Regions from separate parts of the Homo sapiens genome. Here all the other regions are linked to region 2. Evidence: promoter capture Hi-C in human tissues and cell types (Jung and others, 2019). All regions are on one chromosome and are shown on one strand. Each heading gives the region's core, a stretch centred on a gene start or on the middle of the fragment in contact. The rest is flanking DNA. Distances are from core to core; before and after follow the strand shown.

Region 1 (3,596 bases), core at 313-2,812, 87 kb before region 2:
GTGGGTGTATGGATGGGTGGTTGGGTGGATGGATGAATGGGATGGATGGATTAATGCATAGGTACATGGTGAATAGATAGTCATGAATGGATGGACGGATAGATGTATATGTGGGGAACAGATGGATGAGCACACAAACTGTCTGCCTGGGAGTCTGGAGACCTAAGATTGTCTGGACCTATAAGTTCCTCCACAGACTCAGCCCTGCCCCTAACAGCAATGCTGTTAAAATTAACCATGGATTTTTTTTCTTTCTTGTTCTAAATGTACTGGGTAGCTGAGCCCGCTGGTGGTTTGCAGAGCGGGTTTCATCTGCTCTCAAAGCCAGTCCACATGAAGCCCAGCCTTGGTAGCTGTTTTTCCTCCTCTATCTTTCGAGCAGACGCATTTGGCAGACAGCAGATTTTGTCATTTTTCTTCACTTGGGCTGTTATTCCTGAGTAATAACTCATGCTCACAGGAAGGTTGGACTTCTCAGTAATGATATTGAAATTGGATCCCTGGGCACAGGGCATGCAGCAAGCCAGTGAGGCCCTAGCATGTCAATGAGGCGGGCCTGGCCTGGCAGTGCCCAGGGCTGTCTGTCTGGAGAGGGGCTGCTCTTGTACAGCATCTCCCTGAGCCAGGGCCTGGGCTGCACCTCGGCAACCTCCCAACTGCCTCCAACTTGCACAGCAGAACCACGAGAAAATCCCCAGTGAGTGTCTCCTAGTTAAGGACCTAATGTGTCTTACCCAGGAGTGACCATGTCCCAGCTCTGAGCACGGACATCTGTGGTAAGAATAGTACCACGTGCCCGGGAGTCAGGCCCTTGTCACTGAGTCCAGTTCAGAAAGCCCCTGGGCCTATATTCAGCTGTGAATGCAGAAGACACAAATCAGACCACACCACTGTAGGACCCAGAAAAAAAATGCAAATGCATGGTCCTCACCGAAAATTATTAACAATTTCAGGATGGCAACAAGAGAGAATTAAACCAAGCACCGAGTCCCCTTGAGCACTGAGACCTGAGCACAGGGTCCTCCTGAGCACCAAGTCCTCCTGAGCGCTGAGTCCTTCTGAGCAACGAGTCCTCCTGAGCACAGTCTCCCTAAGCACGGGTCCTCCTAAGCATGGAGTCCTCCTGAGCACCAAGGTCTCCTGGGCACCAAGTCCTCCTGAGCACGGGGTCCTCCTGGGCACTGAGTCTCCCTGAGCACCAGGTCCTTCTGAGCACTGGGTCCTCCTGAGCATGAGGTCCTCCTGAGCACGGGGTCCTCCTGAGCACTGAGTCCTCCTGAGCACAGGGTCCTCCCGAGCCCAGGGTCCTCCTGATCAGTGAGTCCTCCTGAGCCCGGGGCCCTCCTGAGAGGGGTTCTGTGTGTCTGCTGGGGGCACAGCCTGTGAAGCTGGCCAGGGACACAGCTTTGGCTCTGAGCTCCCTGAGGCTCTGCTCTCTGCATGCCTGGGTTGAGCAATTTCACTCACAGCCCAGCTGCAGGTTATCAGCTGGGGCCATGCAAGTAGGTGCCACTAAGGACAGGCTTGCAGGTGGCCATTATTCAGGTGGCAGGCACTTCCTCCTCACTCCACCTCATCACCGTTGCCCATCTTCTCCCCAGTGGCCGTCCTGAGCGTGCTCTGGACCTTGGTGGATGGGCCCCGGGCTGTCTGTTGTTGCTGCTGTGGTTCTGTTTGAAAAGCTCCCCTTGTCACCAGGGACGCAGGCTCTGCCTGGAAGGGCTGTCCCTGGCTTCCCCCCGGCCTGTCCTCTCCCCTCCTGTTTGAGTTGCTGTTCTACAGTCTCCATTGCAACCTCACCTTTTCCGAGGTCGCCCATGGGTTGGCACACACTGTTGGCCATGCACCCTCTGCCGCCTCTCCAGAGGATGGCAAGGAAGAATATGAGGTGAAACAAAGGCACTCACACACATGGGTGCACTCTCACACACACTACACTCACACACACTGCACTCTCACACACACTGCACTCACACACACTGCACTCTCACACACTACACTCTCACACACACTACATTCTCACACACTCTACACTTTCACACACTACACTCACACACACTACATTCTCTCACACACTACACACACACACTACACTCACACACACACTACACTCACACACACTACATTCTCACACACACTACACTCACACACTACACGCTCACACACACTGCACTCACACACACTACATTCTCTCACACACTACACACACACACTGCATTCACACACACTACACTCACACACACACTACACTCACACACACTACATTCTCACACACACTACACTCACACACTACACGCTCACACACACTGCACTCACACGCACTGCACTCTCACACACACTACATTCTCACACACACTACACTCTCACACACTGCAGTCACACACTACACGCTCACACACACTGCACTCACACACACTGCACTCACACACACACTGCACTCTCACACACACACTGTACACACACCACTGTAGGACACACCACTGTCTCCTATGTGACGAGAGGGGCAGCCCCAGGCCAAAGGTGAATGAAAAGGAGACATTGGTTCTCGGGCCCAAGTGGTGGCATCACAACAGCGTCGTAAAGGATTTTCCAGGGTGGTCCCATCTCCACACAACTCCGATGTTAGGATCACTGACTTCGGTGCCTCATGTCTCCCAGGATGACCTCCAGGGTGTTTCGAAAGGAAGAAGACAGCAGCCACGGGGCGCCGGAGCAGGTGGGACCGGCTCTGCCCCTGCAGCCTGGAAGAAGGCCGGGGTTCTCCCACTAAGTCACGCAGCTTCCAAAGCTGGGCGACCCCACCCACCTCTTCTGCTGTGAAAGGGGCCTCCTCACCCGGGACGCAGTGCAGGGGCTGTTGCCATTTCAGGAGAGTCCCCTAGAGGCCAAGGACCCCACCTCCCGAGCAGGTTGCAAGACCTGCATTTGGGCGGGACTGTATCCCCAGAGTCAAACGGCAGCTGCGGAAACAGAAGCAAGCTTACTTTCTTTTCCACTGAACAAATTCAACTTTGGGATGCAATGAAGCGCGACTTCTTCAAATGGACAAACAGGTAGCAAGCGCTGACTTGGGAGAGCGATCTCTCAGAGTAAATTGTAGGACAGCAAAGTCGCAAGACTCCTCTGCTGTTCCCAGATAGGACTTTCCAGGCACAACTGTGCAGTTGTAGCTGTGAGTGCAGGAAGGGCTCTGCCGGAGGCTCAAGGGCCTTCCCTCATCCGCCCTCCACGCGCCCTCATCCTCTCTCCACGCGCCATCCCTCCTGCCCGCGACCTCTTCTCCAGCGGTGAGCCAAGCCACGTGGCCGGCAGGGGTCCTGGCCGCACTCTCCCCTCCCGGTGTCTACTGTCTGTGCCATGTGACTTTGCCTTTGCTCCCACCAGCCTTGACTCTGGTTCACTTGTGAGTTGTTTGATGGCAGAGGTGATGAAGCAGGGCCTTGGTGTGTGCCTGAGGGGTAACCAGGAGGGGAATACACCCTAGGAGGGCAGCCTCTGCAGCCTGGGCCCCAGGACAACCACCGGAGGAGGGGGACCTGCGTGGGAGCCACATCCATCAAGAGCACAGCGTGAAGCAGGACCAGTCAGTCCTTGCC
Region 2 (4,052 bases), core at 100-2,599:
GTGGACGAATATGTGGATGAATGGATGGATGGGTGGATAGATGGATGATGAAAGAAAGAAAGGGTGAATGGATGGGTGGATGGGAGAGTGAATAAATGAATGGGTGGATGAATGGGTAGATGGATGGATGGGTGGATGGATGAATGAATGAGTGAGAGGATGGGTGGGTGATGAAAGAAAGGAAGGATGAAAGGGTGGACGGGTAGGTGGATGAATGTATGATAGGATGGAAGCTGGCTGGATGTGGGGGTGGATGAGTTGAATGGACAGATGGGTAAGAGGGTGAGTAAGTGGGTGGATGGTGAAGGAATTAATAATGTTATTATTATAAACATTATTATTATTATATGAATAAGTTTCTGGTTTAGAAGACTAGTATCCTTCTGAGAGCTCTCTCAGAGTGTCAGGCTCTACAAATTTGCTTCCTTGGGCTGCCCCTCTCTGGGTTGTTTCCCCATTTGCTCCATGAGTGTGAAGGAGTAGATTGGCCAGATTAGCTGCGCCTGCTCCAGGGGCCCAGCCCAAGCCCAGGTGCCTGGGAGTCACACTCCAGGACACTCGACCCCTGCCCTCTGGGGCCAGGGTCAGCAGCCTCTGGCCAGACCCCTCTTCTTAAAACAAGCTCAGGTAGGGAGAGAACACTGCCCTGCTGGTGGTTGCCATGGAAAATCCTTCATTGCTTGTTTTTCTCCTCGACTGATTAAGAAAAGGGAGTCATAAAATGACAGGGCGTCACTGGGCCTTGCCGCTGGCCAGCTTTGACTTATCCCCTGACATTTCCCAGGAGCCAGCTAACCTTTTCTGCCACAAATAGACTGAAGCGGGTCCCTTGAGGCAGTCTAGCCTGAACAGAGTCCATCTCAGGGGAGGTCAGGACCCGGGATACAGCAACAGGAGCCGGGTCATTCAAATAACCAGGAAGGAGAGCAGACAGTGCTGGGACCGAGAGCACAGCGAGGACCCTAAGGAAGCCACCAAAAAACAGCCTTCGCAACAGTCAGGACTGCTGTCAGGACCACCAGGCAGAGCCCAGGGAGCAAACACCTGCTCTCCCTCCCTGGGGTCCCCGCTGTGTTCCCAGGCATGACACTCACCTCCCAGAGCAGCAGCCTGGCCTCTGCTCCTCTCCGGGCAGAAACGACACAGGGATGCTCCCCAGTCAGTGTGCTGGGGTCCTAGGGGCGTTGGCGACGCCGGGGCAGGTTCCACCATAGATCCTGCTGCCTCAATCCAGAGGGCTTTCGGAAGGCGCCCCTGCTATGGCATCGCAGAGGGAGGAGACCCGGGATGTGGCCCAGCAGGGCTGTGTATACACCAAGATGCCTCCGTCTGCCCTTCCAGCTGTAAATCAAGACTCAGCCGTGGAGAGGGAGGATAAAGTCCACAGGGGCTGAACCTCCTCCCCAGCCCTGGTCTCAGCCTCAGGATAGAAGACTTTAACCCCAGAAGGCCCTCAGGAGGCCAGGCAAGCCAACACCCTCGAACCTGTGCCACGATGGGGGGCGATGGGGCGAGGACAGAGCCTGGAGTCACAGACCAGGAAACTGGGTTGCCTCAGCTCACCCAGGGTCCCAAGGCCAGGACAGGGCAGAGCCGAGACCAAAGTCCCTGCGAGGCCGCCCTCATGAAGGGACTCGGGAGGGTTCACTGGGTGAATGGATGAGCCTGTACAGTGAATGAAGGCCGAGCCCACGGCTGGGAGCTGCCATCCCCGGCTTCCTCTGAATACAGACAGCCTGATGCGCAGGTCTCAGATCTGGAAGGGGGCCTGGGCCCCTTGACCCCATCTCTTCATTTACTGCTGGGGAAACCGAGGGCCAGCCTGCCACAGTAATGCCGTGGGTGCCTGAGTCATCTCCTCCTCCTCCTCTTCCTTCTCCTCCTCCTCCTCTTCCTCCCCCTTCCTCATCTCCCCCTTTCCTCCTTCTCTTCCTCTTCCTCCCTTCCTCCCACCCGTCTCCCTCTCCTGAGCCCCAGCTCTGCTCTGCCACCAGGCCTTGTCCCTTTTAGGGTCCAAAAGAGCAGGTCCTGCCCTGGGGCCAGTCAGCATGAAAAGGGATGACCATCTCTTCCTCCAGAGGACAGGGACTCTATGCCCCAGGCACTCCAAGGTCAAACCTGGCTCCCACTCAGACTATGAAGACAGCATCCACTGGGTCAGAGTCATGAAGCCACGGGTCCCAGGGGACAGCTCAGGTGGCCACAGGGCCAGACTGGCAGGCTGCCCTCTGCCTCCTGTTAGCACAAACACCCCTCCCCTCAGGCCTGAACTCTGACATGAGCCAGTGGGCACCGGGCCCTGTCAGGAACAGGAGGAGGCCACAGCCATCCTCAGGAGAGAACAAAGGACACACAGGCCTCCGGGGAGAGCAGTGGGTGGCAGTGACAGGAGGGGCTACTCAGAATTCATGAGCGAGGGCCAGGCAGCTTGGCCACCTTGGAGGAGCCGCTGCACCTATCCAAGCCCAGGTTTCCCTGCTGAAGGCAGCACCGGTGTCTCCTCCTGGGGGTGTTGAGAGGGTCATCCCAGGCCAGGGAGGTCGAAGGGCTCTGTGAGCTGTGAAGCGCTGGGCACCTGTGGGGCGGGGGCGTTCATCCTGCGGTCAGTCTGCCCTGGAGGGCGGAACACCTACGCACTGTTCCAGCGGGAGGGGTATGGCGTCCAGTGAGGCCCAGCTCCCCGAGCCTTTCCTGATGGCACTGGAAGACAGGCAGCATCCCAGAAACATATAAAAGGCCCAGGGGCTGGTGCTGGGGGCACATGACCGGGGCGACCCTGGGCTGGGCTGTGTACCCCCGGAGCACTGCAGCAGACAGAGCAGGGGTGCGAACTCCAGGGTCCCAGGATCCATCTCCTTCCCTGCAACAAACCCCTCTCTGCTGGAAATCCCTGGAGCGGTTCCTCCATCCTGCTCTGAACCTCCTTGACTGATCCCACCGACCGGTGCACTGCACAGCTGCCTGGAGACCAGAAGATTCCATACGTCTCCCTCCACCTGCCCAACACCCACAAGCCCAGGAGGCTGCCCTCCATAATTCTGGCTTTTCTGCGTATTTTTCAAAGCACAGGGCACTGGAAGAATGCCTGCATGAGACATTCTTGCAAGCCAGAGCCCGCTGGAGGCATGCAGGAGAGCAAAACCTCCCTGCTGTGTCTGCAGATTTGCACACATTTCTGGGAAATAAACCTGCGGCCCCTCCTCTCCCCGAGACGTTGGTTTATCTTCCAGGGCAAAAGGATACCGTCTTTTCTGTGGCAAAGATGGGGGCGAGATGGCTAGCAGTCCCCTTAGAAGATCAAGGGTTTCCTCGGCTGACACAAACCTGCTCTGTTTGCCCCCTGAGATGTGGGGGACAAGGCAGAGGGATAAGGACATGCTGTACCCTGAGTAATAAATGGTCAGGACCCTTCAGGCTTGTCGCTTCCTTACTGGTCACGTTTATGGAAGTGTGGCGCAAACGTGGCCGCTACTTGGTCAAGTGACTGCGAGTTCCCGTGCGTCTCGGGTCACCAGTGTTTCTCCCTGGCTGTGCCCACACCTCACCTGGCCTCCCAGGCCCTGTCTCCCTGAGCTTCTCACAGCACGCTCCCTCGCGGTCTGTGTACCGCCTCTTGGGTCGCCTTCCACACCTTGAAGCAGGAGTGTGAGTTCCTTCCGCGGACCCGGTGCGGGCTCCTGTGGCCCCGCTCAGCCCGTTCTCATCCTTCAGGGAGTCTCAGATTATTTTTGTTTGTTGTTTCTTTTTTTTTCCTTCCAACTTCTATTTGAGGTTCTAGGTATACACGTGCAGGTCTGTTACACGGGTAAACCGCGTGTCACGGGGTCTTGGTGTACAGATTATTTCATCACCCAGGCACTGTGCATTGTACCGACAGGTGGTTTTTTTTTGTTTTTTTTTTTTGTTTTTTGTTTTTTGTTTTGTTTTTTTTTCTGAGATGGAGTCTTGCTCTGTCACCAAGGCTGGAGTGCAGTGGCACGATCTCGGCTCACTGCAACCTCTGCCTCCTTGGTTCAAGCAATTCTCTGCCTCAGCCTCCCGAGTAGCTGGGA
Region 3 (4,023 bases), core at 1,418-3,917, 110 kb before region 2:
TCAGATTACCCTGACCAGCCCAAAAGCATGTGGAATAATCACTGTGACACGAGCTCCACCCTGATACTGATCTCAGTAGAAACATGTGCCATGCTTCAGGCTCATTTTTTTGGGCAACTGTTTTAGACACGTGTTCTTTGTCAGATTAAGGAGACAGCCTTTTCTTTCTGGCATGCAAAACTTTGTTTTTAAATTAAAGAAGTTGGATTTAATTAATTAATATGTTATATTAATCTATCAGCATCTAGCAGTATCTGGCATTTAATAAGTGCCCGACAAATATTTAGAAATAAATGTATAAATGTATGAATCTAATAAAACTGCAGTTTATTTTCCTTATCCTACTCTTTTATGTGATTTATTGTTTTTCTGAATGTACAACCTTTGAATTTCTAGAATAAGCTTTCCTTGGTTACAGAAGATTAATCTTCTCCCGTGACGTGATGCTGGATTTTATCTGCTGGTATTTTGATTGGGTTCTGAGCCTATATTCGTGATGTGCTAGTTCTGTAGTCTGTGTGTCTGTGTATGTCATGTTTTACAGATTTTGACATGAACCTAGCTTCATAAAAATTAATTAGGGGGTTCTCCATCTTTTTCTCTCCCCTGGAAAAAAAATTGATAGAGCTCTAGTATCATCAGTTCTTCTGATGTTTAAAAGAAGTCACTGGAAAAACCACCAGACCCTAAAGCTGTGGGAAGAGGCAATGGTGAGAATTCTTCAATATCTTCCTTACATATTCAGGTTTTCTTCTTCCTGTCTTGACGTGATCTTGATCATCCATATTTTCCAAGAAAATATCATTTTTATCAGAATGCGTAGATTAGTTACTTAGAACCTCTTCAGGTCTATTTTTGTGTTCCCTTTCTGTTTGCTGGTTTAGAATTCATTTTTTCTTGTTCAAATGGGCTGGAGGTTTGTTTCTGTTGGAGAGTGTGTGTGCACACCTGTGCCTGTGTGCGTGCCTGTGTGTGTGCACGTATGTGTATGTGTGTGCATGAGTGTGTGTGCATGTGTGTGTGTGCATATGTGTGCACACGTGTGTGGGGGGGGTGGGTGGTAGGGTAAAGCTCATAGATCCATGTATCAATTCCGCCATTAATTAAACCTACTGTTAACGCCACTGATCTCTGCTCTGATCTTTTTTATCTGTTTTGACTTTCAGTGCCTCAGATCAAAATACCAGCAGGTAAAATCCAGAGGGCACTGGTGGCTGAGGATGAGACCTGGGGTCTCCCTGTGCAGGGTGCAAAGTGACAACTTCAGCTTCATTGCAATCTTCTCAAGTCTTTCCCCCTAAGGTTAGGGCGCCCGTTGTCTCTTAGGGAAGAAAGATGTCCCGGGATCCAGGTCACATGAACCCATGGACATGTGACTGTAATGACTGTTCAGAACTTGAAAAGAGCGAGTTTCAAGGCTGCTGACAAGGGAAGTGTGGGAAGAGGTGTGTGGCTGGACCCCCGGGAGTGGGGGTCTCGGTGATGAGCTGGACGAGATGCCTTCTCATGTGGATATCTTCCAGCCTCACTCTCCAGCTGCCTTAGTGCATATGAGGGCATGTGTCTGAATGGTCATGTATGAAGGGTCAGTGCAGTAGTGGGGGGCCAACAGCACGGACACCCCCTCACGAAGGCCGCCCTAGCTGCCCTCATTCTTGTATGTCCAGCCTGTTGACAGCCCAGGCCAATGCTGACCTCCCACGAGGCACTGTCCCAGGCTGCCCTATTGGTAGGTGGATTCTGGTAGCCCCTTCTCGTGATGGAGGGGCCGGTGGAAAGGCTGCGAGGAAGCTGGGGCTGTCACTCCACACCTGCACAGAGAGGCTGGATGCTTGTCCTCAGCCATAAATGCCCTCGTGGAAGGAGATACGTGTTTGGGATGTGAATTGCCTTTCCCAAATCCCATTCAATTGTCAGCATCGTCGTCTGTGGTCCTGCAAACACCTATTCACTCCCGAGGTATCTCGTCCAACATTATTTCTGACCAAGAAACTCAATTTTCTCTGAAAGAAAGTGTAGCTCTGGGCTTTTGTCCCTGGGTTTCGTGGGCCTAACTTACACGCCGTTCCTGGGCACAGCTGGCCTGATGGAGGAATAGAAGGGCCTGCAGGAGACCAGCTCTGGAGCTGGATTCTACAGGGGGATGGGGCACAGGCTTTAAGTGAATGACTAATGCCTGGCGCCATTTCCCCCATTTCCAGTACACTCCATTGGGAGCCACAGGCAGGAGGTGAGAGCAGCCCCCGAACTGTTACTCAAATAACCCATTAAACAGTGCTCAGCCGCCCTCCGTGGCTCTGGGCCGGACGACCTGGAGGGTCCGGTGTTGGTGGGAGGAGTGCTGTCTTAGGAAACAGCTGTGGTCCCTGCAGGTTAGGAACTGAGATTGCTGTCAGGCCTCTGGTGGGCTTTACCTTCCAGCCAGCAGACAGGAAAGGGCTTGCCCTGGGTGCTAAGCAAATCCTCAGAGACACGGGGGCCAGGAGGATGCTATAAGTCTCAGGGTGCCCGCCAGCATTCCCATACTCAGTAACACGGGACAAAGAAAACGACCAGCACAGACAGGCCCTGGAGGTCTCAGATCCGCAGAAATGGAGACGGGCCGCCTGACCACCTAGCCGTGGTGGGATGGAGGGTAGGGGGAGCCTGGGATGCAGTGAGCCCCCGAAGTGGGTGTCTGCCTGCAGTGAGGCTAGCCTGGGGTGAGGACCTGTGTGGCTTCAATCCCCTGGGGAACACGAGCCGGACTGGGAAGGGAAGGAGCTCCAGGAGCGGGGATGCCAGCCAGTCCCCAGGGGAACTCTGGGGCAGTGCAAGTTGGACATCGGAGTGTCCCCACTGATGGCAGCAGCCAGGGCGTTGACACTCCTGCCCCTTCCGCCACTGGCCCGGAGCAGGGGTGCCTCTGGCCCTCCAGCGGGCAGGTGAAGCACGTTCCCCACAGAGGCAGCGATAGCTGTGGGGGAGGTGCACAGCTGGGGTCCACGCACGGCACCAGGACCTGGAGAACACAGGCGGGGGACTGAGCTGCCGAAACCGTGGGTGACAGGGAAACCCCGAATGATCCTGATGCTGTGAGAGGTTTGAGGACAAGCATCTGAGGGCGCAACACCATCCCATCTCACAACAGCAAGGAAAGGGGCATGAGTGGGTCTCGGGGAGGAGCGGCTGGGCCCCAAACATCAAGTTCAACACGCTTCCTCGGTGTCCAAGCAGGGTGTCAGGCGTGTAGGCGGATGGTGCATCTGGAGCTCGAGGCGCCGCTGGGGCTGTTGGGGTGAACGGTGATCGGGGCGGGTGGAGGAGGTGGGGCGGCGAGGAGATGGAGGAGCGAGGGCAGTGGAGAGAGGATGAGAAGCACAGGCGCGGCCAACACGAAGATCAGGGGCACGTGGAAACCTACAGACAGACTGAGGAAAAGGGCGACCCCACCTCCGCAGCTGGGAGGGCCACCAGCCAACCTCCAGGCCCAGCGTGGGGCCCGCGGCCTTCACCGTCCAGCAGAGCTGCGGGGAGGGGACCTGACTGGGGGTCCCAAGGAGAATGGGAGGTGGGGCTGTGGGGCCTGTTTACAAAAGGAACGGAGTTTGCAGCAAGGGGAGCAGGGAAGTGGGAAGTCACAGGACCACAGTGTTCTGCACCCCGAGTCCAGCCACACCCCCACCAAAAGCCCCCCCCGATATCCCCTCCGGCCCTGTCCCAACGTCACACTTTCTCCTTCAGTGTCTGGGTGTCTGTTCTTCTCAGGAGGCTCCGAACTGCAGCAGGACAAGGGTTGGGCCTTCTGGAATAATCCTGCAGCTGGCTGGGGTTCGGAGGTGCTGGGGGAGAATCACAACGTGAGCAGAGTACATACGCGGGTCGGGCATCCTGCCCAGGACATGCACCTGTGGCCTCAGGAACCCTCTCCCTTCACAGATCCTCAGCATCATCCTCTGAGGTTGGTTCTCACTTTGCAGCTGAGGAAACTCAGGCACGGAAGTCCCATCATCTGGTCACTTCCCGGGTGACTGCTCAGTAGAG

Evidence for each region. The method cuts DNA at HindIII sites, captures the fragments that hold promoters and counts their contacts. A contact is called where the count stands out against the background at its distance.
Region 1: a contact is called between a fragment that was not itself captured here and the fragment with the promoter of LINC00955 in region 2, in 5 of the 25 tissues and cell types used here (H1 embryonic stem cells, bladder, lymphoblastoid cells and 2 more).
Region 3: a fragment that was not itself captured here is called in contact with the fragment with the promoter of LINC00955 in region 2 in 4 of the 25 tissues and cell types used here (H1 embryonic stem cells, aorta, mesendoderm cells and 1 more).

Annotation. Positions count from the first base shown.
Region 1 is chr4:3,661,873-3,665,468 of GRCh38, reverse strand. No RefSeq gene overlaps it. Among named protein-coding and RNA genes, the nearest start is that of LINC02171, 14 kb to the left of the region's middle. The HindIII fragment of the contact is 5,149 bases long and covers 1-3,596 here.
Region 2 is chr4:3,574,166-3,578,217 of GRCh38, reverse strand. It overlaps LINC00955 (long intergenic non-protein coding RNA 955), which reads right to left and starts at 1,349. Exons shown (of 3, transcript NR_040045.1): 1 at 1,095-1,349. The HindIII fragment of the contact is 13,427 bases long and covers 1-4,052 here.
Region 3 is chr4:3,682,984-3,687,006 of GRCh38, reverse strand. No RefSeq gene overlaps it. Among named protein-coding and RNA genes, the nearest start is that of LINC02171, 7.1 kb to the right of the region's middle. RefSeq lists enhancers at 2,254-2,811, 2,812-3,371. The HindIII fragment of the contact is 8,511 bases long and covers 1-4,023 here.